Regions from separate parts of the Homo sapiens genome. Here region 2 is linked to region 1. Evidence: promoter capture Hi-C in 16 types of primary human blood cells and fetal thymus (Javierre and others, 2016). All regions are on one chromosome and are shown on one strand. The core of a region is centred on a gene start or on the middle of the fragment in contact, and the rest is flanking DNA. Distances in the headings are between cores, read along the strand shown.

Region 1 (4,863 bases), core at 1,706-4,205:
AAAGCTGACAAATGTTGAAACCTACCTATAAACATTTCATTCTCTCCCTCTAGCCTCTGTCACACCACAGACATAAAATGCAATTTGAAGCTCAGTCTTTGAAATCAACAGTAAAATGAGAGAACCATGTCACAGGGTTGTTGAAATTGTTTAGTGGAATCATGTATGGAGAGCACCTAGGATGGTGTGAGCTCAGAAATGTGAGCTCCCTCGCCACCATAATGCCTTCCCTTCATGTTTCATTCCCACTTCCGTGGTGGAGGTAGGAAATGACAGACAATGTCAACCAGAATCTTGATTCTTCTCTGTAATCGTGTGATGAACAAGTTATAAACAGCTCCTGCCTCACAAAACTTGTAGTCTTACTTCTAGCAGAAAAATGTACCATGTGCATGCTTGCTTCCTCATCTATTAATGTGAAGTTCCAGCATCCAAGTGAAAAATTAACAAATGTAATTAGGATTGTCTTGGAGATAGAGGGAATCCATTGTTCATGATTTTTCCCTCTCCCAACCACTATCAACCACCCCACCATCTATACACATCACCACTGTCAGTACCACTTCCAGAAATTACTCCCTGGTCCTAAAACCTGGATTAGATTGCCCTCCTCTGTGCTCCCATAACATCCTGTACTTACCCCTTCTCCAAACTGTTACTCTGGAATGGATTTACTAGTTTGGGAATTAGTCTTCCCACTGAGAGAATAAACTGTTCCTTCATTATTTTAGTCCTAGAAGTTGCCCCATGCCTCAAACGTGGTAGATATTTACCAACATTTTTTGAATTAATGAATGAGTGGATTTGATAAGTTAATTTCTTCATAGTGACTTTTGAGTTCCCGCTGCAAGTTGATGACTTTTTTATGCCAGATGCCCAGGGCTCCAGGCAATCCTTATAGTTTTTCTAACTGACAAGGAATTCTCTATTATGAAATGGGGATGTGATTTACATATACCTGCAATCTTAAAGCACTCATAGAGGCCACTGGAAACTCAAATGGGTAATACAAATTGAATTAGCAGCTCTTGATTAAGAGAGCATTGATTTTATTAAAACTGGTAGAATATATGCCAGAAGTTAATTAATAGCTTGAAAATAATCAGACACTTCATAAAGCTGAACATCTGCCAAAAAGCGGGTATTCTGAGGTATGTTCAGGAAAGTTTCCAAGTGTATAATATTTGTTTCCATAGTTCCTTATGTTGTAATAACCAAAAAATAGGTAAATCAATTTTAAATAAAGCAATTTAACAAACTCATATTTCCTTTATATTTTGGAGGAACTCCAAACTTGCAAGAGTAGAACAATGTCCTTACTTACTCTCTTGGGATATCTAAAATATCTTCAGTCCTATAAGATTCTTTTTTAAAATGAGGAATGATTCTTGTTCTGCTTATTTTTACATAACACCTTTATCATCAAACAAACTTCAAGATGTGTCATCTTTAGTAGGAAAACATATTTCCACCTCATCCTCCTGTTAGACTTCAGTCTACTTAAGCCTATTCTCAGTTTAATGGGATTAACAGAAGCAAATCACAATTTAAGACTATAGTTTACCAACCTTCCTTTCTCTTGTTCAGTGAAATTCCCCTGATAATCCATCAGTCAACCCCTGCTGGCCTTGAGAGGCGCTCTAGAAGGCAGGAGAAGGGCACACAGGCTCGCTTTTTGAACTGAAGAAGGGTTTCATTTGGTTTAGAATTGTCAAACTTCAAAAAATAAATAAATAACTTAAAGTGTTTTTCAAATCAGCCATAAGGCTACAAACCAGAAAGAAAAGTGTGAGGCAGGTGTTTGGGGCAGCTACCCAAGTTGCCTACATGGTTTCCAAGGTCCTTTCAACTCTAAGGTTTGTGTATCAGGCTGTCTACAGATCATACTGTCTCCATAAGATTGTCTAGTTCATTTTATGGCTAGTTTGAACAATCTGATTTTCTTTTTTACAATGGCAGGGGCTCAATCCATGTTAGGCTTCAATGTTGAGTCACCCAAGTTCTCCACAGAGAATAACCAACCAGCCGTAAGGAAGCTTCTTTTAGCAATGCCAGGATTCTGCAAAGTCCCTCCCAGCTTAACTTTTCTGACCTTGCGGCAGCAGAACAACAAAAAGAACAGCCCCTGGCACCCTCAGAAGAGCACAAAGCCCTCTGACAACCTGAGATGGCGCCCAGGTAGACTTCCCTCAAAAAAAAAAAAAATGGCAAGGCTGCTTCAGCAGGTCTTTCAGCCCCAACCACTCCACTCTCCGTCTCCTTTTCTTCACTGCTTTCCCCACCTCTCTTCCCCCCTTCCACTTTGACCCACCCCAATTTTCGTCCACTTCTCCCTCACCCCTTCCTTGTAATCTCTCTCCTTGAGGCATCCTGTGGATGTTGACTGTAATCTCCCCTGGAGGAGGGCTAAGAAATGCACCTCCAGAGGGTCTGTTTGCCATTGGAACCGCGTAGAGAAAGCGTGCAAACCCGTCAACTGCTCCCGCCGTTCCTCTCCCTCCTCAACCCAGGCTCGCTACAGAAGAAGGGAGTAGGGTCTGCCCCCTTGTTGTATCTATTTTCCCCTTCTCCGCCAGGGCTGTGGCCGGCAAGGGGCTCAGGAGGTGAGTCCCTTGCCCACACCTCCAACCCCGCTGGCCCGGTTTATAACATGGACAGCCCTGCCCTCTAGTGTCTGCAACCGGGAGCCCTAAGGCGCCATCAGCTCCAGAATTTCTCTTTTATAACCTAAGCAAGACCTGGAGTACCTCGGAGCTGCGACCTCCAGTTCACAATACCACCTGCCTCACACCCGGGCTCATCTTTTCATCCCACACCCACCACCCCCCTCTCCGTTCACGGTGTCCCGGGAGGCTGCGACCTGCGTAGATGATTTAGCAGACTGCCCCTGCCCATGCTCCTGCTCCTGCTCCTCCTCCTCCTCTTCCCCGCTCTCTCCCTCTCGCCTCCTCTTCCAGTCCAGGCGCCCAGACTCGGCGAAGCGCAGCGCCTGCCACCAGCGGTGCCTCGGGCTGCCCGGCGCGCCGCGCTCCCAGGTTCTGTCTCGCCGCACCCCGGCGGGCACTGGCGCGGGCAAGGACGCTGGCGGGGAGAACGCCCTGGGCTCAACGTACTCCAGAATCGAATGTTGAGAGAAGCAGTGCTCTGATCCAGCTCAGGAGAAAAAGGAGCGGGTTCCGAGTGAGACTTCTGGAGCCAGCTGGACGTGCCGGTTTGCCCAGTGCGGCGCGGCTGCACGCACCGTCCACAAGGTGAGGGGCGCACACCTTCCGGGACGACCTTGGCTTCCCTTCTTACCCCCACCCACTCCAGGTACTCCAGCTCTGGCTTGGGGATGTTTGCCAGCTTTGAGGCGCAAAGGCGGCGGGAGTTGGGATGCGGGGTGTCGGAGGGAGACTGAGGGTCGCCCGGGCACCGTGCCTGCACCCTGGATTATAGTACAGAGAGCATTTCTTGTTCAAACAATTCCTCAAATGTGTGAACCTGAGAATCAACATTGTGTATAACTGTGGTTTGAGCATTTCATCCTGCTTCCTTGCAAAAGGATTAGAGGCAGCTTAAAGATTAAATAGGTATGGAACGGGTGCTGGGGGGGGCCAGGGAAAACTTGAGTAGAAATCACAGGGAGGTGGTGTGCTCCAGGGACCCCGGAAGAACTGTGTGATTTCAAAGCCAGCTGATTAAAAAACCTTTGATTAGAAAGGACTGCACTGTTGCTCCAGCCCTCAGAAAATAATACTGTGCTCAGTCCTGATAAACAAAATGCCCAGGTGTGGAGGTAATGAGGCAGGCTCATTTTTTTTAAAATACAAAATAAATCTTGGAAGTAAGAGTTAAGATGAGAAGTTTGGTCTTAAGCCATCTCCACCCAATACTGCAAGGTGAGAGGCTGACCCCCTACCTAACGAAAAGGAAAGGAAATTGAGTCTAAAGGGAAGTGATTCCAGCTCCTATCACAGGATCATAGTGGTTTTGCATCTATATGTATATTTCTGCCTGTGCCCAGTTTTGGAAGAAAGGACCTTGTATTCAACCCAACGCTGCTTGTCCTTGAGTTAGAAGGATAAGGCAGATGGTGTCAGCATCCCAAGGTGTTTCTTCCTAACCTTTCTTATTGTCCTTCCTTGCCTCCTGCACCAAATCTCTTGGGGAGGGAGCAGCCCAGGAGGAAATAATAGATCGTCAAATGGGTTGGGGGAGCAGTGTTTTTTCCAAAATAATTTAGGCTCATTTTATCATTCTTATGTTTTCCCTCAAAGCTCTAAGCAGTACATCGTCCTAAGCTGAATTTAACATTGCTCCAGAATATATATTTATCATAGTTGTACATTCAGACACAATATGCATAACCTTAAACAGCCAGGATGCACTTGTGAATCAGGGGCTTCCCTTACTTAATCCTGCGCAAGAGAGGCAAAGCAGGCACGTGGGTCTGATTCCCTGTGCGGTCTCCTTCATGAGGAGCATATGTGAAATACCTTTGAAATACAGAGAAGATTGAGACAGCTTTTCTCTTTCTGGTACAGTTGCTTTCCTGCTGAATTAAATGAGATGACCCTGTCTTCAACAAATAAATGAATGGAGGCATTTGAGGCCCATTTAACAAATGCACAAAATATGCCTGCCTCTGTTTTTCCTCCCTTCAGAGCTTTAGCCTCCAGCCCACGGAGTTGTGATGATGAAGCCCACCTCCTAAGTGGGACTCAGCTCAGTTTCTGTATCATATTTAAAACAGAGTATGTTGCTTATTTCTAAAATTGCATAGCACCTCACCACTAACTATTTTGCTGCATAGAGGTATTTCATCACTAAGAGAGCTATATAGAGAAACTCACTCAAATCCTGATTCATCATTGTTGATAG
Region 2 (4,863 bases), core at 903-3,402, 990 kb before region 1:
GTACTGGTAGCTTAGTTTGTTTCCATTTAATGGCATTTCAAGGTATTTGTTAAACAGTGCCTACAGTATATGAGACTCTAATTGCCAGAGGAAAGGGTACTGTGAAGCAGTGAAATTATAAAATATGGATAAAATCTTGACTTGGAGGAACTTATGATCTAGTGTGTAGTATTGTACATTTGAGGCATGGCATATTACAATTGGGGAAGAGTTAAAAATGCTTCAACAGGTAGCTTCCTGCATAGGGTTGTAGTTTGTACCTTTATATATTATGTATAATTTTTCTTCCTTTTGTATTTGTTTGTGAGTGGAGTTATAAAGAGTAGTGAGGAGAGGTCATGACTTCCGAGCTGAAGATTTTTGGCAAGAAGACCCTTCCCAATGTGGCAGATTAAAAGAAAAATCTAATTTGTTATCCAACTTTTGCATGCGAGAACTGATTCCACATTGAAAAACAAAAACTCATGTTATTTGCTGATTGTAATATTGAGATAACCCTGATATATTGAGGTTAAAGACAAATGAGATTTTTTTTTTTCTGGTGACAATGAAGAAACCTATTATTAATCTCTTCAGTAAGAGAGAAAACTAAAAATCTCTACAGCTCTTTAAGACGGTGGGAGTTTACCGTGCTCAGTGGCTCATGCCTGTAATCCAAGCACTTTGGGAGGCTGAGGCGGGCAGATCATGAGGTCAAGAGATTGAGACCATCCTGTCCAACATGGTGAAACCCGTCTCTACTAAAAATACAAAAGTTAGCTGGGCTTGGTGGTGCGTGCCTATAGCCCCAGCTACTCAGGAGGCTGAGGCAGGAGAATTGCTTGAACCCAGGAGGCAGAGGTTGCAGTGAGCCAAGATTGCACCACTGCACTCCAGCCTGGCGACAGAGAAATAGTCTGACTCAAAAAAAAAAAAAAAGAAGGCCGGGTTTGGTGGTTCATGCCTGTAATCCCAGCACTTTGGGAGGCCGAGGCGGGTGGATCACCTGAGGTTGGGAGTTCGAGACCAGCCTGACCAACATGGAGAAACCCCGTCTGTACTAAAAATACAAAATTAGCCGGGCATGGTGGTGCATACCTGTAATCCTGGGTGCTCGGGAGGCTGAGGCAGGAGAAACGCTTGAACCCAGGAGGCGGAGGCTGTGGTGAGCTGAGATCGTACCATTGCACTCCAGCCTGGGCAACGAGAGCAAAACTCCGTCTCAAAAAAAAAAAAAAAAGAAGAAGAAGAAAAGAAAAAAACAAAAGAGGGAGGGAGTCTCCAAGCAAAGATTTTACCTAAAGCAAATGGAGTGTTTTTTAAAAATTTATGTGACTTTGCAGTTAAAATGTTATGTATACCAAGTTTCAGATTACTCTTAATGGTATATAAAGCTTGATTACAAGGCATATGTACTTGCTGCTAAGGCCCAAGAGAGCCACTGCAGTAAACCAAGTTTATTTTACTATTCACAGTCACCTAGATTGGTGGGTTTGCTAAATGCCTAAAATAACTTTCTACTGGGCTGGCATGTTTCTTAAAAACAAAATCTCAAAGATGGGCAAGATTCATTTAAAGGAGGAAGCCCTGACATGAAAAAAAAAATCCTTGCCTGCTTGACTTTTCCCTTTGCTTTGGAACCTTAAGAAACAGTTGGGTCACTTTAAACAAAATTTGCTCTGGGCCTAGAAAATTTCAATTACATGCTATTGGCCTATTAATGAGAATTTTATTAGTTTGCAAAGAAATAAGGAGCATCCAGTTCTTCTCACATAGAGTGGAAATAATTTCCTTTATGGTTCACATTTAGGACTCCATTGCTCTAATTTAAATATCTTTTACTGACATTACAGAACAGAAGGCTTTTGTGTGCATTATTCCAAACAGCTGATCTCAAATTTCTGTGGATACAGACAGCTAACAAAGCAGTTAAAGTCAACTATTCAATAACTCCTAGAGATCCGTAGGCTCAGTCACTCAGCAACATTTAACACGCTTGACGAGCACAGCATCTTAGATGTTGTCAGGGATAAAAAGTAATAAACTATGGTTCTTGCCTTCAAGGATTTTTCAGTTGGGTAACTATGAAAAACACATACATGAAGAACTAGACTTTTAAAATTATACTCAAACAACTACAAAGCAACCTAAAGGAAGTTTGTTTATAAATTCATGTTGACCTTACCCTCAGCATGTTAGTATGAATGAATTTTCAAATCATAGAGTTTAATTATTTTCAAGTTTAAATAAGGCATTCCACCTTCATCAGAAGGAAGGAATTATACTTACAAAACATACTTAAAAATTTTGAGGAAAATAGAGACCTTTAAGGGAATAACTTGATAGATAGAAAAACTTTTGCCTAGTAGAACAACCCTTCATCTATAAATCATCTTCAAAAATGAATAAGTGGCCATGATCTACACAACATAGCACAAACACCTTGCCATAGGATGCAGGAAGAACAGGCATCTGATCCAAGGCAAGTCCATGGATGGCCTGAGCAGTGGACCTTGAGGTGGTCAAACCCAGAGTTCTATCCAGCAAAGATGATGGTGATCAACTGAGCCTAGGAAATGCTCTCTCTCAGGAATTTGAATGTGAAACATAGTGAAAGTTAAAATGCTACTGATAAAAGTAGAGGCTGAAAAGAGATGCAGAGTCTATATTAAACTTGTTCTACCCAGATCTTCAAAGGCAGATAAGAGTAATATGTTGGATACTCCAATTATGAAATTCTGCCCCAAATCTCATTCCATTAAATAAACTGGAGAACTTTATATTTTATATGTGTGTTTTTTTCTTATTCCATCTCAAAATTAGGCACATGAAATAATATAATTAATGTTTAAACTCTTCTCTACAAATCTATATTCTTTTAATCTAAGTCTACAGGATATCAGAATTCTAAGAAAAACTTGGAAATCATGTTCAGGACTATACAGGACTTTAAAAGCTTTATCTTCCCAAACTGAAAACCAGACCTCTCAAGTCTAGCTGCTCTCCTCCAGGTGCTGCATAAATGGTGAGCTCTAGGCACTCATTGGCCTCTGTGATCTCCTCTTTGCACCTTCTTTTGTCCTACTAACTTTCATGCCAATCTTCCCATTTTTGTTCTCTTCTGTCTCTTGAAATGCTATGTTTGGCAGCATTTTTTTGGGCCGTGTTTCTATTTCTCCAGGACCTGGTCTTTGGCTACCTTACTTTGGATCACTTGGTTGAAACAGTTCCCTTAGTCAACTTGTCCACTGGACTTAAGCTGTGGGACACAGAAATTTTCCCTGGAAGAACAGAACAATGAAGATGAATAGTTGAAAAATGAGGTGAGCAGAAAAGTTATTTATTTATTTTAAGCTTATTCTGTTACTTTGTAGTTGTGTAAGCTAGGGTAATCTTCTAAAACTCTCAGAGCATCAGTTTAAAAAATTTAGGTTGGGGATAAGAATAATTCCTCATATGGGAAGTCAAATTGTCTCTCTTTGCAGATGACATGATTATATATTTAGAAAACCCCATCGTCTCAGCCCAAAATCTCCTTAAGCGGATAAACAACTTCAGCAAAGTCTCAGGATACAAAATTGATGTGCAAAAATCACAAACATTCCTATATATCAATAATAGACAGAGAGACAAATCATGAGTGAACTCCCATTCACAATTGCTACAAAGGGAATAAAATACCTAGGAATACAACTTACAAGGGATGTGAAGGGCCTCTTTAAGGAGAACTAGAAACCACTGCTCAAGAAAATACAAGACGACACAAACAAATGGAAAAATATTCCATGCTCATGGATTGGAAGAACCAATATTGTGAAAATGGCCATGCTGCGCAAAGTAATTTATAGATGCAATGCTATCCCCATTAAGCTACCATTGACTTTCTTCAGAGAATTAGAAAAACTACTTCAAATTTCATATAGAACAAAAAAAGTGCCCATGTAGCCAAGACAATCCTAAGCAAAAAGAGCAAAGCTGGAGGCATCATGCTACCTGACTTCAAACTATACTACAAGGCTATAGTAACCAAAACAGCATGGTACTGGTACCAAAACAGATATATAGACTAATGAAACAGAACAGAGGCCTCAATAATAACACTACACGTCTACAACCATCTGATCTTTGACAAACCTGACAAAAACAAGCAATGGGGAAAGGATTCCATATTTAATAAATGGTGTTGGGAAAACTGGCTAGCCACATGCAGAAAACTGAAACTGGAATCCTTCCATACACCTTATACAAAAATTAACTCAAGATGGATTAAAGACTTAAATGGAAGACCTAAAATCCTAAAAACCTTAGAAGACAACCTAGGCAATAACATTCAGGACATAGGCATGGGGAAAGACTTCATGATTAAAACACCAAAAGCAATGACAAAAAAAGCCAAAATTGACAAATGGGATCTAATTAAACTAAAGAGCTTCTGTACAGCAAAAGAAACTATCCTCAGAGTGAACAGGCAACCTACAGAATGGGAGAAAATTTTTGCACTCTATCCATCTTACAAAGGGCTAATATCCAGAATCTACAAAAAAGTTAAACAGATTTACAAGGAAAAAACAAACAAACAATCCCATCAAAAAGTGGGCGAAGGTTATGAACAGACACTTCTCAAAGGAAGACATTTATGCAGTCAGCAAACATATGAGAAAAAGCTTATCATCAGTGGTCATCCGAGAAATGCAAATCAAAACCACAATGAGATACCATCTCACACCAGTTACAATGGTGATCATTAAAAAGTCAGGAAACAACAGATGCTGGAGAGGATGTGGAGAAATAGGAACACTTTTACATTGTTGATGGGAGTGTAATTTAGTTCAACCATTGTGGAAGACACTGTGGCGATTCCTCAAGGATCTAGAACCAGAAATA

The links. Contacts are between HindIII fragments. The CHiCAGO score rates a contact against its expected background, and 5 or more counts as called.
Region 2: a contact is called between a fragment that was not itself captured here and the fragment with the promoter of HTR1E in region 1, in 2 of 17 cell types (endothelial precursors and erythroblasts). The highest score is 8.0, in endothelial precursors.

What each region holds. Positions count from the first base shown.
Region 1 is chr6:86,934,573-86,939,435 of GRCh38, forward strand. HTR1E (5-hydroxytryptamine receptor 1E) reads left to right here and starts at 2,956. Exons shown (of 2, transcript NM_000865.3): 1 at 2,956-3,251. RefSeq lists enhancers at 2,740-3,295, 3,296-3,850. The HindIII fragment of the contact is 4,175 bases long and covers 2,035-4,863 here.
Region 2 is chr6:85,946,791-85,951,653 of GRCh38, forward strand. LOC101928842 (a long non-coding RNA gene) reads left to right here. Exons shown (of 9, transcript XR_002956361.1): 5 at 2,868-3,004; 6 at 3,161-3,302. Among named protein-coding and RNA genes, the nearest start is that of SNHG5, 270 kb to the left of the region's middle. The HindIII fragment of the contact is 1,562 bases long and covers 1,372-2,933 here.